Regions from separate parts of the Homo sapiens genome. Here regions 1, 2, 3, 4, 5 and 6 are each linked to region 7. The links are contacts of gene promoters, found by promoter capture Hi-C in human tissues and cell types (Jung and others, 2019). All regions are on one chromosome and are shown on one strand. Each heading gives the region's core, a stretch centred on a gene start or on the middle of the fragment in contact. The rest is flanking DNA. Distances are from core to core; before and after follow the strand shown.

Region 1 (2,700 bases), core at 104-2,603, 450 kb before region 7:
GGAGGGACCACGCTGTGCTGATCCACACATCTATCCATGGACATTTGGGCTGTTTCTACCTTTTGTCTGTTGTGAACGGTGCTGCTTGAGCACGGGTGTGCAATCGTCTGTGTGAATCCTGTTTTCGTTTCTCTTGGATATAAACTTCTGAGTGCACTCGCTGGCTCATAGGGTCACTCCCCAGTAAGCGCTGTGCGCACTGGGGAGCTGCTCACCTGTTTTCATGGTGAAATCTTTTTTTCTTTCTCCTTTTTTTTTTTTTGAGACAGAATCTTGCTCTGTCACCCAGGCTGGAGTGCAGTGGCAGAATCTTGGCTCACTGCAACCTCTGCCTCCCGGGATCAAGTGGGTCTTCCCAAGTAGCTGGAATTACAGGCATCCACCACCATGCCCGGCTGATTTTTGCATTTTTAGTAGAGATGGGGTTTCACCATGTTGGCCAGGCTGGTCTTGAACTCCTGACCTCAGGTGATCCACCCGCCTCAGCCTCCCAAAGTGCAGGGATGACAGGTGTGAGCCACCGCGGCTGGCCCACGGTCAAATCTTAAAGCATGGTTTCCCAGCCACAGCACCGTGGCCATTTGAGCTGGACCAGTTTCTGGAGCAGGGCCGTCCTGGGCACTGCAGGGTGCTGAGCACTGTCTCTAGCCTCCATCCACTCCATGCCAGGAGCACCCCCTGCCCCTGTCTTGGCGTAACCCAATCATGGCTGTTGCAAATGTCCGCTGCCATTGCAGGGGTCCTCTGGGGGCAGGATCACCCCCTGGCTGAGAACTACGCTCTTTAGGCCAAAGAAAGAGGGGTGTTCTGGGAAAGCAGGTGAAAGTCACAGGGTGGGTTTGGGCCCTGGAGGCCCACCAGGTGGTGAGAGAGAATCCTCTCCTGCAGGGGAAGGTGAAGGGCTGAGAGGGATTCTCTCCCGGGCCACTGCGAGGGCCTGCAGTGGGGGTGGCGGTCAGGCTGTCCCGGCTGCGAGTCACGCGCTCTCTCCTGCAGCATGTCCGGCATGATTTCGGGTGGCAACAACCCCTTGGGAACTCCCGGCACCAGCCCCTCGCAGAACGACCTGGCCAGCCTCATCCAGGCGTGAGTGGAACTGCTTCCAAGAGGACGGAGGACGTGGGCGGCGGGCAGGGCTCGCAGGCGGAAGGGAAGGAGGAGAGCGAAAGTGCTGCGTCCCCTGCTCCGAAGGGCCCAGCGTCCTCCAGCGAGGGGTCAGGCCTGTCTTTGGGGTGGAGGGCCCGAGGGGTCAGCTGGGGATGGACGGAGGCAGCAGGCAGCCTCCTGGCCCTGGCTGAGCCCCATGTGCCCTTCCCCGCAGGGGCCAGCAGTTTGCCCAGCAGATGCAGCAGCAGAACCCAGAGTTGATAGAGCAGCTCAGGAGCCAGATCCGGAGTCGGACGCCCAGCGCCAGCAACGACGACCAGCAGGAGTGACGCTGCGTGAGTGCATGGGGCCGGGGGCTGGGGGGTGGCCAGCAGGAGTGACACCACGTGAGTGCCTGGCAGTGAGGGCAGCCAGCAGGAGTGACGCCCGGGGGCTGTGGAGCCTGTCTGGACACTGGACAGCGAGTCCTGGGTGCATCCAGCTCAGAAGATCACCCTGAACCGCCCAGGCAGGTGGGGGCATCTCTGGGCATTGGGCCCCTTTCCAGGTGGCCACCAAGTCCTGCTCCCCACTCCTTTCCCATCTGTGGATCGGCGCTGGGTGGAGATTAGGGGAGAGCCACAGCTCCCTGGAAGGGCTGGTGTCTGGGGTCCCCCCTGCCTAAGGCCGCCTGCAGAAGCTCTTTGTTTCTGCAGTGTCGGGGCTGCCACCTCGGGGGTGGGGGCGAGGTCATCGAGTGGTGGAAAGGACAAGCCGGGTACCTGCCTTTGACTGCGCCCGAGCGTTCTGCCTGCATTTTGTGAGGGATTTTTTGTCCTTTTCTCACTGTGAGCAGGTGTTGCACTTACAGTTGTTTAAAAATACACTCAGTGTCCCCCATGGGTTCCAGGGGCCCGTGGCTGGCTTGGTTTCCTTCCCCAGGGGCCCCTGAGTTCAGTCCTGTCCGTCTCCAGCAGACACCGGCTTCCCAGGGGTGGGAGGCTCCCCTGAGTTCAGTCCTGTCTGTCTCCAGCAGACGCCGGCTCCCTGGGGGCGGGAGGCTCCGGGCCTCCCCAGAGGTGTTTCCATTCTGCTCCCATGTGGCCTCTTCATTTTGTCGTTGTCCCCTCCTCATATACACTCTCTTTCATTTTTAAACCATAATTACTGTAGACAAATTTAAAATACAAAAATGTTAAAAAGCAGCAAGAACAATCTTAATCTTTTTTTTTTTTTTTTGAGACCGTCCTGCTCTGTCCCCCCGGCTGGAGGGCAGTGGTGCAGTCACGTCTCACTGCAGCCTCAACCTCCTGGGCTCAAGCGATCCTCCCGCCTCGGCCTCCCAAAGTGTGAGCCGTGCATTCAGCCCAACCTTAATCTTCTCACCCAGAGCCACCAACATTAATATTTTGGCCGCCTTTTCTTCCAGTCTTCCCTTTTTTTTTTAAATAAGCTTTTATTTATTTTTCCTTTTCTTTTTTTAATAGTTGAGGTGGATTTTTTACCACCGTAACCTCATACACAAAGTACCACCATACTGTAGACCCTTCTAGGTCATGGCGATGTTCTCTGCGCCACCAGCCACACGTGGCCCCGAGTGTGTGGAACGCTTCT
Region 2 (2,700 bases), core at 194-2,693, 420 kb after region 7:
GCTCTGTCGCCCAGTCTGGAGTGCAGTGGCGCGGTCTCAGCTCACTGCAAGCTCTGCCTCCTGGGTTCACGCCGTTCTCCTGCCTCAGCCTCCCGAGTAGCTGGGACTACAGGCGCCCGCCACCACGCCCGGCTATCTTTTTGTATTTTTAGTAGAGATGAGGTTTCACCGTGTTAGCCAGGATGGTCTTGATCTCCTAACCTCATGATCTGCCCGACTCGGCCTCCCAAAGTGCTGGGATTATAGGCGTGAGCCACCGCGCCCAGCCCATAATGAAATTTTTTTAAGAGACAGGATCTTGCTCTCTCGCCCAGGCTGGAATGCAGTGGAGTGATCATAGTTTTATTTATTTATTTATTTATTTATTTATTTATTTATTTATTTATCTGAGACAGTCTTCTTGCTCTGTCACTTGGGCTGGAGCACAGTGGCCCGATCTTGGCTCACTGCAACCTTCGCCTCCCGGGTTCAAGCGATTCTCCTGCCTCAGCCTCCGGAGTAGCTGGGACTACAGGCGCGTGCCACCATGCCCGGCTAATATTTGTATTTTTAGTAGAGACAGGGTTTCACCACGTTGGTCAGGCTTGGTCTCAAACTCCTGACTTCAGGTGATCTACCTGTTTCAGTCTCCCAAAGTGCTGGGATTACAGGCATGAGCCACCGTGCCCGGCCTAATGTAATATTTTAAAAACTAATGCAAAAGAATTTCTGATGAGCAATATATAAAGACTTTAAATAAGCTGGTCATGGTGGCTTGTGCCTATAGTCCTAGCTACTCAGGAGGCTGAAGTAGGAGGTTCACTTGATCCTGGGAGGTCGAGGCTGCAGTGAGCTATGATGGCACCAGCCTGGGTGACAGAGTAGACTCTATGTTAAAAAAAAGAGGCCAGGTGCGGTGGCTGATGCCTGTAATCCCAACACTTTGGGAGGCTGAGGCAGGAGGATTCTGGGGTCAGGAGTTCGAGGCCACACTGGCCAACATGGGGAAACCCCGTCTCTACTGAAAACACAAAAATTAGCTGGGCATGGTGGTGGGCGCCGGTAATCCCAGCTACTCAGGAGGCTGAGGCAGGAGAATCGCTTGATCCCAGGAGGCAGAAGTTGCAGTGAGCTGAGATCGCGCCATTGTACTCCAGCCTGGGCGACAGAGCGCGACTCCATCTCATAAAGAAAAATATTTTAAAACATTTCTAAATGTTGATGTCTGAGTTTTTTTTGGCGTCCCTGTAAATTTTGTTTTCCAGGCGAGAACTTTACTGGCCTCAACCTATTCCGGGTCCCCAAGTGAATGAAACCTAAGTTTGGCCCCGCCCACAGAGCAGCAGGCCACGCCCCTCGACATATCAGCCCCGCCCCCAGGACGCTAGTCGCGCGGTCGCTCTGTGCCTGCAGACCCCCGCCCCGCGCGCTCCTCGCGTCACTTCCGGGGCGGTGGTGAGAACGAGGCTCACTTCCGTCCGTGGGGGGAGCTGCGGCGGTGGCGGTGCAGGAGGCCGGGCAGGGGTGCGGAGGGACCGACGGACGCACGGGCGGGCGGCCGGGAGCCATGGAGCGCGGCCCTGGGGCCCGGGGGCGCGGGCCGGGGTGGTGAGTGCCGGGCAGGGGCGGGGGCGGGCGCGGCCGCGCGGGGTCCCGGGCCGGGCCTCGAGGGCCTGACAGCCCGGTTGGACGTCCCCGAGACCCCTGCAGTCCCAGGGCTTCCGCGGGTCCTGCCCGAGGAGCCCAGAGCAGGGGCGCGGACCGCGGATGAGCGTCTGTGATTGGGAAAGCCCTGTCCCCATCCATTCAGCCCTCCGGCGTGGGTTGCGCTCCCACCCTCCTGCGGACGCGGCCCTTGCCTTCGGGGAGCACCCGTCCGAGCCGCGGATTCCGCTCTTTTGCCCCGAAACTGCCCCCAGTCCGACAAACGCTTCGGCCTCTCGCCCCCCAAGGCAGCTCCCAGGGGCCCTCCCGAGCCCTGCTTCCCAACCAGCTCCCAGTCGCTGTTTCCCTTGTCAGGCTTCTTCCTGCCACCCTGACTCCTGGGCGGGCTTCCCGGCCTCCGCTCGCGTCCGTTCTCCGGGATGCAGCCCTTCTCCTATGTTGTCCATCGCTTGCTCGGGACTTCTTCGCGGCCCCGCCATTTCTCCCAGGATGAAGTGCAAACTCTCGGGGGCGCGACCTCACCCGTCCCAGGCTCTCTCTTAGGACCCTTCTGCTCACTTCTTCCTCCCAGGGTCTGCTCTAGCCAGGAGCCTGCTCTGTCACCTCGGATTTTGCTCCTGCTTGTCCCTCTGTCCCATCCCCCTGTCACCTGGCCCGTTTGTCTGCCCTCTGATATGGCCGCGCCTCCCCCCAGGCGGGTTTCCCACCCTGACTGGTTGAGTGAGGTGCAGTCACCGTCTCCCATATGTAGGTCATCTTCCAGTATTTTGGCTGCTCGGTTGCTTGCTGGTCCTCAGAACACCTCTAGCTTGCAGAGGGTTGCCCAGTTAAGTGCGTGGGAACGGAATTGGTGGGATTCAGGGTGTCAAGGGTGTGTGCCCAGTGAGTGAGGCGTCTGGGTTTGCACTCCCCAGTCCACGCCCATTAGTGACACTAGGGAGGTTCCAGGTACCTGTGGCTGGAGAGGAGAGGAGACTAGACTTTCCCTTCCCTGTCAAAGCTGGCGGACCTTGGGGATTCTTTTCCTCCTGTGCTTCCTCCTTAATTCTGTGCTGC
Region 3 (2,700 bases), core at 7-2,506, 510 kb before region 7:
GGCGAGACTGTCTCAAGAAAAAAAAAAGAAGAAGAAAAAGAAACCAACCTGTTTGGGTAGGGGAGAGTTCAGGGAGGTTGGGGTTGCTAGAGCAGCAGAAAGGTCAGCTGCCTCCCTCATTCCTCAACATGGGTGGTGGGTATAAACAGAATAGACCCTTGCAGCTGCGCGGTGGCTCACGCCTGTAATCCCAGCACTTTGGGAGGCTGAGGCGGGTGGATCACCTGAGGTGGGAGTTCGAGACCAGCCTGGCCAACATGGTGAAACCCCGTCTCTACTAAAAATGCAAAAATTAGCCGGGCGTGGTGGCATACGCCTGTAATCCCAGCTACTTGGGAGGCTGAGGCAGGACAATGGCTTGAACCCGGGAGGCGGAGGTTGCAGTGAGCCGAGATCATGCCATTGCACTCCAGACTCCGTCTCAAAAAAAAAAAAAAAAGGACCCTTGCTGTCTTATCACCAGGACAGCGGTGCTAACGTATAAGTGAGGTCTCTCCCTCAGGGCGCTGTGGACACTGGAGCCTGGGTCATTCTCTGGGCTGGGCAGGGTGCTGAGTTGCATCCCTGGCCTCCACCTACTCCATGCCAGGAACTGCCCCCAGTTATGACAACCACAGACGTCCCCAGACATCGCCCGGTGTCCCCTGGAGGGCAGGACCGCCCCTCGCTCAGACCCTCTGATGTGGCCTCACTGCAGTGCGAGCGTGGCAGCCCCTCTCTGCCTTTAGGGTAGAGTCAATGCGTCTTCTCCCTCTCCTTGCAGGCTGGGCCTCGGAAAGCTTATGCGTCTCTCACCCAGGGGCGTTTTCACAGGGCAAGGGCAGACCGTGCCATCCTGGGCGTTGGGGCCCTGGGCGAGCTGCCGGCTCCCGACCCTCCCGTGGGGACCCTATCGCGACAGGGTCATGCCCCGGCCACCCGGCCCCGCCAGACCCAGCCCCACCAGAGCCCCGGCAGGCCCGGCACGGAGGTCGCGGCGCGGGAGGCGGCGGCACTTACGGCTGAGCTGCCGGGAGCCGCGCGCGCCGGCCCAGGTGGGCGCAGGTGACCATCGGGGCGCGCGCTGAGGCGCCAGACAGGGCCCCCGAGGCGGGAGCGCCCCGTGCAGGCCGGCCGGCCTCCCCTGCGTGTCCCTGGGACGCCTCCTCCGCTCGGCTCCTCGGCGCTCGGAGCGGACGCCCCCCGCAGGCGCCCCTCAGGAACTCGCCGCAGCCGCCGCCACCAACCCCGACGCGCGCAGAGGTAAACTCGGCACTGCGCCTGCGCACCCCGAACCTGCGAACTACAAGTCCCAGCAGGCCCCGCAGCGCGGCGCTGGGCTCCTGACTCTCCAACCTGGGTCACAGCGCCGCCTCCGGGCGGGCGGCGTCTCCGCAGGACCACGATGCCCCTGCGGCTGTTGGATCCACCCCGTGTGGTTCGCTGGAGTCCCCGGGTGTTGTGGGGTTCGCGGAGCCAATCCTCAAATCCCAGCTCCGTCGTTTCCCGGCGGCTTGCCATTGGATATTAATAACTACTATTATTTATTAAGCAAGTTATATAAACGTATAATGTATTACATACTTATTAAAATGATTGCTTAAGTAATTGTTGTTTGTTTTTGAGACTGAGTTTCGCTCTTGTCGCCCAGGCTGGAGTGCAATGGCATGATCTCAGGTCACTGAAACCTCCGCCCCCTCGGGTTCAAGCGATTATCCTGCCTCAGTCTCCCAAGTAGCTGGGATTACGGGCGTGCACAACCACACTCGGCTAATTTTTTATATTTTTGGTAGCGACGCGGTTTCACCATGTTGGCCAGGCTGGTCTCGAACTCCTGACTTCCAGTGATCTGCCCGCCTTGGCCTCCCAAAGTGCTGGGATTACAGGCGTGAGCCACCACGCCCAGCCAAATTAAATTATTGTTTAAATATTTATTTAATATTCTACTGATTGTTATTTATGAGAAATTAAAATAGTAAAACTACTATAATTAATATACTGTTGTAGGATACAACAAATTCCTCTTCAAAGGTTTTAGCCTGTAAATTGTTAAGTACAATCAGTTATGAGCTCCTCTCCAAAGAACCAATGTTTCCGTATATTCAGCTCCCCTGTTCTTTTTTTTTTTTTTTTTGAGATGGAGTCTCGCTCTGTCGCCCAGGCTGGAGTGCAGCGGCGCGATCTCGGCTCACTGCAAGCTCCGCCTCCCAGGTTCACGCCATTCTCCTGCCTCAGCCTCCCAAGCAGCTGGGACCACAGGCGCCCGCCACCACGCCCGGCTAATTTTTTTGTATTTTTAGTAGAGACGGAGTTTCACCGTGTTAGCCAGGATGGTCTCGATCTCCTGACCTCGTGATCCGCCTGCCTCAGCCTCCCAAAGTGCTGGGATTACAGGCGTGAGCCACCGCGCCCGGCCACCTATTCTTTGTTCTTCATTTTAAACTTTAACTTCCTCGTTCTTTTCGTTTCCTTGCCCCTAGTTTCAGTAAACAACCCCTCCTAGCCCCTATCACCTGCTCTGACCTTAGTCACCCTTGGTCACCTGCTCTGACCTTAGTCATCCTTGGTCACCTGCTCTGACCTTAGTCATCCTTGTCACCTGCTCTGACCTTAGTCATCCTTGGTCACCTGCTCTGACCTTAGTCATCCTTGGTCACCTGCTCTGACCTTAGTCATCCTTGTCACCTGCTCTGACCTTAGTTATCCTTGGTCACCTGCTCT
Region 4 (2,700 bases), core at 111-2,610, 410 kb before region 7:
GCCCATGTTGCAGTTGGAGCATTGAGTGGCAGAGTGGAAGGAGGGCTGGAGGAAGGGGTCTGGAGGCCAGGAGGGGGAGTGGGGTCAAATCAGGGAGAAATAGAGCTCCTTGAGCCCCAAAGCCGCTTGAACCTCAGTGCCCCAGCCTCAGTGGCAACAGGAGAGGGGACTGAGTGGTCTTGGAGGCAGTGCCAAGTCTCCGCAGAGGCAGATGGGCCCACCTCATCCAGGGCCATGGAAATGGTGGGTCATGGAGAACCCCAGGAGCTGAGGGCCCAAGGGGTTCACCTGCTCACAGGCCTGGTGATGGGGAGCTCACCACCTTCCAGACCAGCCTCTCACCCACTGATGGCTCTGACTCTGGAGAGACCCCTGTGGGTCCCAGAGTTGGCCTCTCCACCAAGGGGCGCCTTCCTCTGACAGCCTTGCGGCCTGGGACTGTCCCGCACCCACCCCTGAGAGCACCTTCTGGCCTGGTCACTAGACCCCAAAGTCCAGTCTCCTCTGGGATCTGCCCGATGAGGCCAAAAGGAACCTCGGCCTCCCGGTCTCCAAAATGGAGGCGGAACCATGGTCTCTTGTGGACACACAGACGCATCAGAAAAGCCAGTGCTCCCCTAAGACACCTCCTGTTGGGGGAACACAAACATTTTCCTAACCGAAAACGGCAAACCCATCCGCTGCAGAGCAGCGCCAGCCCCCTTTGCTCACCCCCCACCTCCCTAGGCCTGACTGCCATGGGCTGCCTCCGCCTCCACAAAACCAGCCCTACAGAGCGCTGAGTCCGCTTCTGCCCCCATCCCGCCCCTGCCCAGGCCCCTGGGATGGGTGGGCCTCCAGGTGCACCCCATTGACCTGAACCCTCCCGCCTCTGCCCGCTTCTAAACCTGTTCATTGATTGTTGATTATCGACTTACTCATTTCACAACGCACCCCTCTGATTCCCCGCCCTGCGTGTGACCGGGCCCCAGCCGGCCTCAGGGGTCCCGTTCTGCACCCCCTTTATCCGCATTTCTGCCAAAGCCCTCCACCCCCGGCTGGACTCTGCTCCTCCCAAGCCGGGCTCCTGGCCCCCACTCGGGGTTCCCCGGGAAGCGGCCCCAGCTCCCACCCCGAGGGAGGGCGCGCGCAGGTGGCTACGTGGCAGGGCGGGGGTCCCGGATCCTGGCGACCTCTCCCACCCCGGGCGCGGGCAGGGGTCCCGCGTGGGGCGGCGGTGACCTTGGCCGGGCGGCGCGCCGGCCCCGTGGGCGCGGGTCCCCGGGGCGGGGCGGGGCGGGGCGGGGCGGGGCGGAGCGCGGGGCCCGGCGGGCGGGGACGGCGCGGGCGCGACTGCGGCGGCTCGGGCGGGCGGGGGGCGGCGGCGCCAGCGGACACCGGAGCGGGCAGGAGCAGCGGCCGCGGCGCCGCAGGGACCAGCGGGCCCAGGTAGGCGGCCCGGGGCGGGGAGGGGGTCCCTGCGCAGCCCCCAGCCGGCCGTCCTCCCCGCCGCGCGTCCCTCCTTTGTCCCGGCCCCAGCCTCCCGGGCCTTGGGGCCGGGCCCTTCCCCGCGTGGCTCCGGGGCCCCTCGCCGGGCGTCCCCCGTCCCTTCCCGCCGGGCCCGGCCGGCCCCTCCGCGCTCACCTTGGACAGCTCCCGGCCGCCTCCCCTCCCCCACCCGGAGGGCGCCCCCCTGCCGAGCCCGCCCCACCGAGGCCCACCCCGCCGCCCCTCTCCGCATTGGTCCCCTCGGGCAGGGCCTCCTCCCTCCTGCAGCCGCCTTCTTCGCCCTCCGCCCCGCTGCCCAGCCAAGCCCCTCCCTCCGCGCCCCCTCCCCGGGGTGGGCTCCTCCTCTCCACCACTGAGGTCCTCCTGAGTCAAGGGTCGCCCCTGGGCTGGCCCCGCACTGTGCCTCTGCGCCCTCGGGCCCCCTAGAGCAGGCCCTTTCTCCATCAAACCCCTCACCGGCCAGGCGGCCCTGGGTCAGACCCCCGCCCCACCCTTGGTCAGGCGTGACCCCCGCTAGACCCCTGGGTCGCGGCTCTCTCTGCTTTCCTGACCCTGAGCTTTGCTTTGACACCCCCGCCCCCACCAACCACGCCGTGCCCGGCCGGGAGCCGGGCTTCAGGGACCCAGGGCTGGGGTAGATTGGCCCTGCCTGGACGTCTGGGGGTGGGCTGCCCCGCACAGGCGGGAAACCCCAGGAGTCTAGCCAAGCAGGGTGGGCTTCCAGCCCCGCTGTGCGCCTCCACCCCCCTGCTCTGTGACCTTGAGCCAGCCCCTCCTGCTCCTGCCTCGGTGCCCACGACCCCCTCCCTCCACCCGCACCCCCCAGGCGGTGGAGGTGGGAAGTGGCGTGGGCTTCGGGGCTGTTGAGTGCAAGCGCCTTTCTGGTCAGGGATTCCAGACCCAGCGGGGAGGACAGTACTGCTCATGGGGGCTGGAGCTTCAGTGCCCGCAGCAAGGCAAAGGCTGGATCTGGGTCCACAGAACCCATGGCCATTAGGACCCCAGGCCGGTCTTGGTGGCGTCTTTCTGCACAGCAGCGTGCCCGCCTCTCAGGGCGCCCACCCAGGAAAGGGCAGGGTCTGCAGCACAGGCCGCCTCCCCCCCACCACCAGCACCCCCAGCCTCCTCCGAATGCCGAGAAATTACTATGCATGTAGTCCACAAACCCGGCAGCCAATCACATGAGTTGGCATTGCCGAGGCGCCCAGAAGT
Region 5 (2,700 bases), core at 74-2,573, 430 kb before region 7:
GAAGCAGTCATCCAAAGGCTCAACTGGGGCAGGACCCTCTTCCATGATCACGTTCATGGCTGTTGGTAGCATTTGGTTCCTTATGGACGCTTGTGCTGAGGGTCTCATTGCCTTGCTGACTGTTGGCTGGAGGACACCCTCAGTTCCTTTCCCTCTGGATCTCTCCAGCATCTTAGCTTGCTTTGTCAAGACACGTAGGCTGAGAAGGCGAGAGACAGGCTCTGCTGGCAAAACAGAAGTCACAATCTCTCATAGCCTAATCGCAGAATGACATCCCATTCATTTGCCATTTTCTATTTGTTAGAATCAAGTCATCAGGCCAAGCGCAGTGGCTCATGCCTGTAATCCCAGCACTTTGGGAGGCCAAGGTAAGAGGATCACCTGAGGTCAGGAGTTCAAGACCAGCCTGGCCAACATGGTGAAACCCCGTCTCTACTAAAAACACAAAAATTAGCCGGCATAGTGGCACACGCCTATAATCCCAGCTACTCGGGAGGCTGAGGCAGGAGAATCGCTTGAACACGGGAGTCGGAAGTTGCAGTGAGCCAAGATCGCGCCATTGCACTCCAGCCTGAGTGACAAGAGCGAGACTCTGTCTCAAAAAAAACCTTTTTTTTTTTTTTAGAGATGGGGTCTCACTATGCTGCCCAGGCTGGCCTTGAACTCCTGGACTCAAGCGATCCTCCCGCCTCGGTCTCTTAAAGTGCTGAGATTACAAGTGTGAGCCACTGCGCCCTGCCAAGATTTGGTTTTTAACTTACGCGTTACCTCCTATACTTATTTTTTCATGGTTTGAACATGTAACATCTACTTTCTTAGCAATTTTGCAGTATGCAATGCATTGTTACGAGCTGTAGCCACCATGATGTACAGTCGATCTCTTGGACTTACTCCTCCTGCCTATCAACAGAGATTTGTTGAAGGGATGAATCTGCTTCTTCAGCCGTCGGTAAGGGGATCAGCAGCGAGGACGCTGAGAGAGGAGCCGCCTCCGTTGGAAATCCCTTCCCATCCACCTCCAAGCCTCTTTCCAAGCGGGATTCAGCACCAGGCGCCCCTGGACAGCTCTGGAAACCCAACCCTGCCGGAACCGTTCCTCGCCAATCCGGGTTTCCCGCCGGGGCCGCTTGGTGGCTGCGCCCGCCGCTCAGCGGGAGGAAACCCCTTTCCTGTGCCGGTAGGAGAGGTGGAGTCGCATATGAGTGGCAGGTTTCGCAGCCAATAGTATGGAAAGTTCTGCCAGCGGGTCTCGGGGAGGCCAATGGGCAGGGGCGTGGGCGGGGCGTGGACCAGCCGCGCCGAGCGGGGCCTCTCCGGGCCGCGTCTGTGGGGTCGAGACTGCGCGGCCGTTGGGCGTGCAGCGGCGCCAGTCGGCGGACGAGGGGCCCCCGGGAGGTAGGTGCGGGCAGAGAGAGGACCTGGGGCGGCGGGGCGGGGCGGCGCTGAGCGGCCGGGGGTCTGTTGGACTCTACCCGCACGTTAGCCGAGGCCCGTCTCCGGTGCCCGGTAGCGCGAGGCACACAGAAGGCGCTCAATAAGTGCTGATTGAATGAATGAGCCCGTGCCCTCCTCATCCCGGCCCGAGCAGCCTCCGGTTTGAGAGCGTGCAGGCCACCCTCACCTTCACTGTACAGACTGAGGTATCCAGATGCCGGACAGGTCTTTATTGGGCGCCTACTGTGTGCCTGGGTGGCTCTGCGCTGGGTGCAGCTGGCCCTGAGCAAGACAGACAGCCTGGTCCCGCCCAGCTCACCGCCGGGGGGGAGGGACGACTTTAAATGACTTAAAATAATGTAATTCCTAGCTCCCTCTGTAGCACAAAATAAAAGAAAATAACACCAGGGAAGGGGGCGGGGAGAGCTCTGAGTGGAGACATCTGAGCAGTGACCCGAAGACCTGAATGCAGTGAGGTAGCGGGGCCATGAGGCGCTTGGGGCTGATGGTGGGGGAGAAAACCCAGTTGGGGAAAACTCAAGGACAGGGGAGGAGCTGAGATTCCTCCTAAGAACGGTGACATTTTGGGGTCCAGGGTGAAACCGACTTCACTTTGGCCCATTGCATCAGGTAAAATGCGGCCCTTATCAGTGGCCACACGCTTCCCCTCGTCCATGTGTTCAGCCAGCGGTTTTTGAGTATCTGTTCTGCAGCAGGCCTTCCGGCGGGTACAGGGATATGGTTTAGGGCAGGAGTCAGCCAGGGGCAGAGAGGGAGGCCCTTTTTTTTTTTTTTTTTTTTTTTTTGAGACGGAGTCTTGCTCTGCAGCCCAGGCTGGAGTACAATGGCGCGATCTCGGCTCACTGCAAGCTCCACCTCCTGGGTTGAAGCAATTCTCCTGCCTCAGCCTCCCGAGTAACTGGGATTACAGGCACGTACCACCATGCCCAGCTAATTTTTTTTTTTTTTGAGACAGAGTCTTACTCTGTCACCCAGGCTGGAGTGCAATGGCTTGATCTTGGCTCACTGCAACCTCCACCTCCTGGGTTCAAGTGATTCTCCTGCCTCAGCCTCCCAAGTAGCTGGGATTACAGGTGCCCACTACCACACCCAGCTAATTTTTGTATTTTTAGTAGAGACAGTGTTTCACTGTGTTGGCCAGGCTGGTCTTGAACTCTCGACCTCAGGTGCTGGTCTCGAACTCTCGACCTCAGGTGATCTGCCCACCTCAGCCTCCCAAAGTGCTGAGATTACAGGTGTGAGCCA
Region 6 (2,700 bases), core at 129-2,628, 500 kb after region 7:
GCCCAGGAGGTGGAGGCTGCAGTGAGCTCTGATCGCACCACTGCACTCCAGCCCGGGTGACACAGTGAGACTCTGTCTCCAAAAAAAGAGAGGTTCCCTGGCAGCCTCCAGGGCCAAGCAGGCTTCCAATTTGGGCTTCCAAAGAAAGAGGGTTTGTGATCACCGAGAGCCCTCAGGTGGTTGCCGCTTTGATGGGGGAGGTGGCTTCCCTATCCCCCTCCACCCATGTTTGCCTCTCCCTTTGGGCCCTCACCCCAGGTAGCCTCACTCTTGGGGGCATTTCATCTTCAGCAGCCCCTCCGCACACACTTTCTGACCCTGGCTCCAGGCCCTATCGCTGGCCTGGACCCGCCCTAGCCTCGTCGCTGAACTCACCCCTGCCACTTCTTCAGTAAGGATCCCTGAGCCCCTGCCACCTGCTGGAAAGAACCCTGCGGGCTTCCTCTTGGCCTTAGGGTGGTCTCAATGGCTATAACCGCCTCTCCCCAGCCTGGTGCTCAGCCCTGCATCTGCGCCTAGGAGGCGCTCGTTGAACGTGTATGGGATGAATGAACGAACCCAGGACACGGATCAGACATGACTTACATAACCGCCGTTACCTGTGGTCCTTCCTCCTGCACTCTGCCACGCTGGCCGCACCAGCCTCAGCCCCGTCAGGTCTGCAAGGCCCATTCCGACCTGACCCAGGCCCACCTTTCCAAGAACCCTTCCAACCCCGCCCTGCGGTGCAGGTTCTTTCTGCTCCCTGACCAAGCCCGGCCCGGCCCTGCCCTGACACCCTCTTCCCTTTCAGGCTCCGCCCCTGCACTGGCACTGCTCCCTAAGGCCCTCCCAAGGCCCTGCCTTCTGTCCTGGACCCACCCTGAGCGCCCTCCTACCCTGACCCTGCTCTGCGCGGCCCCGCCTTCCTCCTTTGTAACGGCTCCGGATCCCAGCCCCGCCCCTACCATAACACTGCTCCGCAAGGCCATGCTCAACCCCGCTTCCCGCTCTGGCCAAGCCCCTGAGTCCTGGCCCCGCCCCTACTCTGACTTTGCTCAGCGAGACCCCGCTCGTCCTCGCCTTCCTTCTAGTCCCTTCCCCAAAGTCCCGGCCCCTCCCCAGACCCAGGCACTGCTCCCGAGCGTCTTCTATCCCGGCCTGTTCTGCGAGGCTCTGCGAGGCCCCGCCCTTCGGCCGTGACCGCGTCCCTGAGGCCTGGCCCCCATCCTGCTCGGCCGTGCTCCGCTCGGCCCCACCCTCGAGGCCCCGCCCCTTCTTCGCCTTGGCCCCACCCACCCCCTCCAGGCCCCGCCCCCGGCCCCCTTCCGGGGTCCGAACTGGCTCCACCTTCGCCTTGGCCGGGCCCCGAGGCCCCGCCCCGAGATCCCGCCCCCCGTTTCAGGACCGTTGGCACCGGGCTAACGGTTCCACCACGTCCGCCGCCCTGGACGCCCGCGGCCTGCCCCCCCCTGCCTCTCCTGCGCCGGTGAGCGGCGGGTGCTCCCACTGCTGTGCGTCCCCGGGAGCCCGCGCACCCTCTCTGGGCTCCACCCAGGCTGAGAGCTGGGGTCGTGGCGGCGGGGGTGGAGAGCGCGCCCCTAGAGGTTCGCGCGGTCGGGGCCCCGGGGCGGGTGCAGACAGCCCTGGACTCTGGAGCCCTGTCCAGGGCGGTCCTGTGCCCCTGCGGCTGCGGGAAGACGGGGTGGGGGGCTTCCGAGTAATGGGGCATCCCAGTTAGTGAGGGGGCAGGAAGCCAGCGCTGTGTCCGTGTCTCTTTCTGCCCCCAGATACACTTCGAGTGGATTCTGGCCATTTGAGCATTCTCTCCAACTCTCCAATCCCCAGTCTGCCCCCACGGGGGTCTCCCCCACCTCTCCCCCGTCCCACAGCCTAAACCCCTCTTCGCCCTGAACCTCCCTTTTCCTCATGCGGTGAATGGGCACTGGCCCCGCTCAGACTCCCAGGAGCACCAGAGCTGGCCCTGAGCCAAGCCCTGCCCCACCAGGACCTGGGGACACGGGTGACTCAGACGTGACTCAGGAAGGCTCAGGTCCTGCTGGCATCCGCGGAGGTGAGACGGTGATCAGAGCTGGGATGGGAGACTCCCCAGGCAGAGGGGCACCTGAGAGGAGGCACAAGGCCCAGCCTGGCCGGGCTAGGAAGTATGAATGGAGACCAGAAGGGTGAGGACGGGTGCATCGGGTGGCCGGAACACAGGGGCAGGGGCTTGGCGGGGAGGGCACTGCTAGAGAGCTGGCAGGTGGGGGGCCAGTTGCTGGCGTCTAGGGGTGGTTTGCCCATCCTCATAGGGGGCCAAACCAGGGCCCCCGGTGCAGGGCTAGAGCCAGACCCACATTCCTGAACCTGCTAGTGGAGAAGATTCCAGGATCTTCTGACGATGTCCGTCTGCCTCCATCGCCCCCATCAGAGTTTGCTGCCCAGCCTGGGGGGGTGAGGAGGGGAGTGGCCATGCCTGACCCTCATGCTGTGTTTTGAGATATAACATATAGCCCGGGGGTCCCATTCAGTCAGTGAACAGATGACTGAGCCCCTAAGCTGGTGCCACATGGGGAGAGGGGCAGGAGGCCGTCAGTGAAACCAGGAGGAGGTGAGAGTGGTCCTTTCAGGAAAAGCGAGGTGTGGGGAGCAGTGGCCGGAGGCTGGCATGGCCAGAGGCTGGCATGGCTGGCGGTAGAGTCCTTCTAGGCTGTACTGGCG
Region 7 (2,700 bases), core at 113-2,612:
ACAAAAATTAGCCAGGCATGGTCATGGGCGCCTGTAATCCCAGCTACTTGGGAGACTGAGACAGGAGAATCGCCTGAACCCGGGAGGTGGAAGTTGCAGTGAGCCAAGATTGCACCACTGCACTCCAGAATGGGTGACGAGAGCAAAACTCCATTTCAAAAAAAAAAAAAAAAAAAAAAGACAAAAAAAAAGGTAAAAAACTTTCCATGAGCACTCGCAGTGCACTTGGTGTGTGCGCTGCTGTGTGCTAGGCGGAAGGCACATTGGGGAACAAGCCCATTAGACAAACTGAGAGGCTCCAAGCTGCTCGATGGAGGGACAGAGAGAAAGGCTGTCCAAGCTGGGCACAGCGAAGATCAAAGGCCTGGGACTGGAGGGACTTGGCCTGTTTGAGGAAGGCTGAGGGGGTGGAGCCCGGGAAAGAGTGAGTGAGGACAGGCCAGGGGGAAGGAGGTGGTGCGGCAGACCAAACAGTGCAGGCAGCCGGGCGGTGGCTCACACCTGTCATCCCAGCACTTTGGGAGGCCGAGGTGGGTGGATCACCCGAGGTCAGGGGTTTGAGACCAGCCTGGCCAACATGCTGAAAATCCGTCTCTAATAAAAATACAAAAATTAGCCGGGCGTGGTGGCGGGTGCCTGTAATCCCAGCTACTTGGGAGGCTGAGGCAGGAGAATCGCTTGAACCCAGGAGGCGGAGGTTGCAGTGAGCCAAGATGGCACCGCTGTACTCCAGCCTGGGCAACAGAGCAAGACTCCATCTCAAAAAAAAAAAGAAAGAAAGAAAGAAAGAAAGAACGAAAGAAAGAGAAATTCCAGGGTAGGTGGGGTGCAGACGGGACCCTCACGGCAATAGGGAATCACGGCAGGTTCTGGAGCCCAGTGGCTAAGCTTCCTCTGAGGGGCTTCCTCTGAGGGCCACATAAGGAATGGGCCTGGGCTGGGCTGTGGCAGATGTCCAGGTGCAGATGGTGGCGGCCTGGACTAGGGGTGGGGGACGGGGGGCAGAGGAGGCGATGGTAGCTTCCAGAAGGTTCCACACGGAACAACCTGCTGCACTTGGGGTGCCCCTGCGTTTATTGCACGGCACGGCCGTCTCCGCAGGCTCACCCAGGCCGTGGGGACAGGAGGTCCTCGGACACGAAGCGCCCGGGATGCGCACGGAGGGGTTCTGCACCCGCGCTCCCAGTGTCCCCGCACCTGCGCCCACGTGGCCTCTCACACCTGCGGCCCCAGCCGCCGCGCACGCGGCCCAGCGCAGCCCCCGCGCGCCCCCGCCAGGCGCGCCGAGGAGACCGGCGGGCGGTTGCGCGCGGCGGCGGCGCGCACGGCGGAGCCCGGGAGGCGGCGGCGGCGGCGGCGGCGGCGGCGGCGGCTGCTCGTGTCGGCTCCGGGCGGCCCCCGCGCCGCAGCCCGCGCCGTGTCCGCGGCGGAGCCGCCCAGGTGAGTGGCCGTGCCGGGGCCCGGCGTGGGGCGCGCCCGCAGACCTGGGGACCCCTCACCTGCACCCTGCGACCCTGCCGCCCAAAGCCCCCAACCCGCGACCCCATCCTCAGCCGGGGGAAATTGCCCCGCGCACCCCTCCCGGGCTCATCGCTCCTTGCCAGGCCCCCGACGCTCCCCCTGGAAACTTTGGGGGCGAACTCCCCACCCTGGGGCCCCCCGCCCCTCCTCTGGGGCGCCAAGGAGCGGGGAATCGGGTGGGCATCTCCCCGGGGCACTGGGGACGCTGGGAGGATGCGCTCCTCTCCAGGAGGAGATGAAGGGGGCACTGGTTGGGTCTGGGGTGTGGGGAACGTCCGAATAGAGCCTGCAGCCCGCGCCTTCCTGCCCTGTCTCCCCCGAGCCGGGTCTGGTCCAGCCTGGGGGTGCGGAGCTGGAAGACGCAAAGGGTATCTGGGGTCCACACCGGAGCCTGCTCCATCGCTGGAGCTGACGGCCCGGCCTGGCGGGGAGGGACCTGGGGGCATAGGGCTGAGTCCCCCTGCTCTGGGGGCGTCTGAATAGCACCAGAAATGGTGGGCCTGGGCACCCTGAGTGGGTGCCGCCACCTCCCGGGCCTCTGGGGCCTGGCCAGGGGAGGCCCTGAGTCCCATTCAACAAGTTTAGGGGAGCAGCACCTCGTGCCTTGGTCCGGGCACAAGAAAAGCCCCGGGTCCTTACGCTGGAGACCACCATGTAACTGGGTTTCTCAACGTGTGCTTGGGGCGCTAACGGTGCCGGTGTCCCGGCCCCCCCAGTTCTGAGGAGTCAGAACTTCTGAGGCGATGTGCCCCAGAAGCTGCATTTTAGCAAGCGGTCCCTGGCTAAACCATGGACGCAGCGAGGCTGCAGACACCCTTGCTCCGGCGGGGGTGGGGAGCGGGCGTCTGCTGTGCAGTGGTATTTGCAGAGGGACGATCTGGGGCTTGGCTGGGGGGAGCCTTCAGGGACAACAGAGCTGTGAGAACCAGAGCAACCCAGGAGGGCTCCCTGGAAGTGGCCTGGAGAGGATGCAGAAGGTGTGAGGTGTGAGTGGTCAGGTGGAGGACGCAGGCTGGAAACAGGTTCAGGGAGGGTGGTGCTGGCTTTATCAGGAGGCTGGTGTGGGGTGGGCTGCCGCGGCATGGCCTTACCCTGGCTGTTCTCTGAGCCGAAGCAGCAGCCATCGTCGGAGACAGGATCTGAGTGGGAAGAACCCACGGGCTTCCCCTGTAGACCCAG

The links. The method cuts DNA at HindIII sites, captures the fragments that hold promoters and counts their contacts. A contact is called where the count stands out against the background at its distance.
Region 1: a fragment that was not itself captured here is called in contact with the fragment with the promoter of LINGO3 in region 7 in 9 of the 25 tissues and cell types used here (bladder, dorsolateral prefrontal cortex, heart left ventricle and 6 more).
Region 2: the fragment with the promoter of ABHD17A here is called in contact with the fragment with the promoter of LINGO3 in region 7 in 4 of the 25 tissues and cell types used here (aorta, dorsolateral prefrontal cortex, heart left ventricle and 1 more).
Region 3: a contact is called between the fragment with the promoter of ZNF554 here and the fragment with the promoter of LINGO3 in region 7, in 4 of the 25 tissues and cell types used here (heart left ventricle, lymphoblastoid cells, mesendoderm cells and 1 more).
Region 4: the fragment with the promoter of DIRAS1 here is called in contact with the fragment with the promoter of LINGO3 in region 7 in 3 of the 25 tissues and cell types used here (mesenchymal stem cells, spleen and stomach).
Region 5: the fragment with the promoter of SLC39A3 here is called in contact with the fragment with the promoter of LINGO3 in region 7 in 7 of the 25 tissues and cell types used here (IMR-90 fibroblasts, adrenal gland, aorta and 4 more).
Region 6: the fragment with the promoter of ATP8B3 here is called in contact with the fragment with the promoter of LINGO3 in region 7 in 4 of the 25 tissues and cell types used here (heart right ventricle, pancreas, spleen and 1 more).

The regions. Positions count from the first base shown.
Region 1 is chr19:2,756,079-2,758,778 of GRCh38, reverse strand. It overlaps SGTA (small glutamine rich tetratricopeptide repeat co-chaperone alpha), which reads left to right. Exons shown (of 12, transcript NM_003021.4): 10 at 997-1,086; 11 at 1,322-1,442. The coding sequence ends at 1,436. Among named protein-coding and RNA genes, the nearest start is that of SLC39A3, 17 kb to the right of the region's middle. The HindIII fragment of the contact is 7,304 bases long and covers 1-2,700 here.
Region 2 is chr19:1,884,239-1,886,938 of GRCh38, reverse strand. It overlaps ABHD17A (abhydrolase domain containing 17A, depalmitoylase), which reads left to right and starts at 1,443. Exons shown (of 5, transcript NM_001130111.2): 1 at 1,443-1,587. RefSeq lists a silencer at 2,031-2,178. The HindIII fragment of the contact is 23,112 bases long and covers 1-2,700 here.
Region 3 is chr19:2,818,424-2,821,123 of GRCh38, reverse strand. It overlaps ZNF554 (zinc finger protein 554), which reads right to left and starts at 1,256. Exons shown (of 5, transcript NM_001102651.2): 1 at 1,000-1,256. The coding sequence starts at 1,052. RefSeq lists an enhancer at 152-845 and a silencer at 778-1,217. The HindIII fragment of the contact is 22,652 bases long and covers 1-2,700 here.
Region 4 is chr19:2,720,032-2,722,731 of GRCh38, reverse strand. DIRAS1 (DIRAS family GTPase 1) reads left to right here and starts at 1,360. Exons shown (of 2, transcript NM_145173.4): 1 at 1,360-1,428. The HindIII fragment of the contact is 24,571 bases long and covers 1-2,700 here.
Region 5 is chr19:2,738,640-2,741,339 of GRCh38, reverse strand. It overlaps SLC39A3 (solute carrier family 39 member 3), which reads left to right and starts at 1,323. Exons shown (of 3, transcript NM_144564.5): 1 at 1,323-1,395. RefSeq lists enhancers at 1,042-1,091, 1,792-1,841 and silencers at 1,152-1,551, 1,960-2,227. The HindIII fragment of the contact is 11,347 bases long and covers 1-2,700 here.
Region 6 is chr19:1,810,954-1,813,653 of GRCh38, reverse strand. ATP8B3 (ATPase phospholipid transporting 8B3) reads left to right here and starts at 1,378. Exons shown (of 29, transcript NM_138813.4): 1 at 1,378-1,468; 2 at 1,770-2,165. The coding sequence starts at 1,918. RefSeq lists enhancers at 585-744, 1,125-1,870 and a silencer at 1,295-1,664. The HindIII fragment of the contact is 30,703 bases long and covers 1-2,700 here.
Region 7 is chr19:2,306,816-2,309,515 of GRCh38, reverse strand. It overlaps LINGO3 (leucine rich repeat and Ig domain containing 3), which reads left to right and starts at 1,362. Exons shown (of 2, transcript NM_001101391.3): 1 at 1,362-1,440. The HindIII fragment of the contact is 18,961 bases long and covers 1-2,700 here.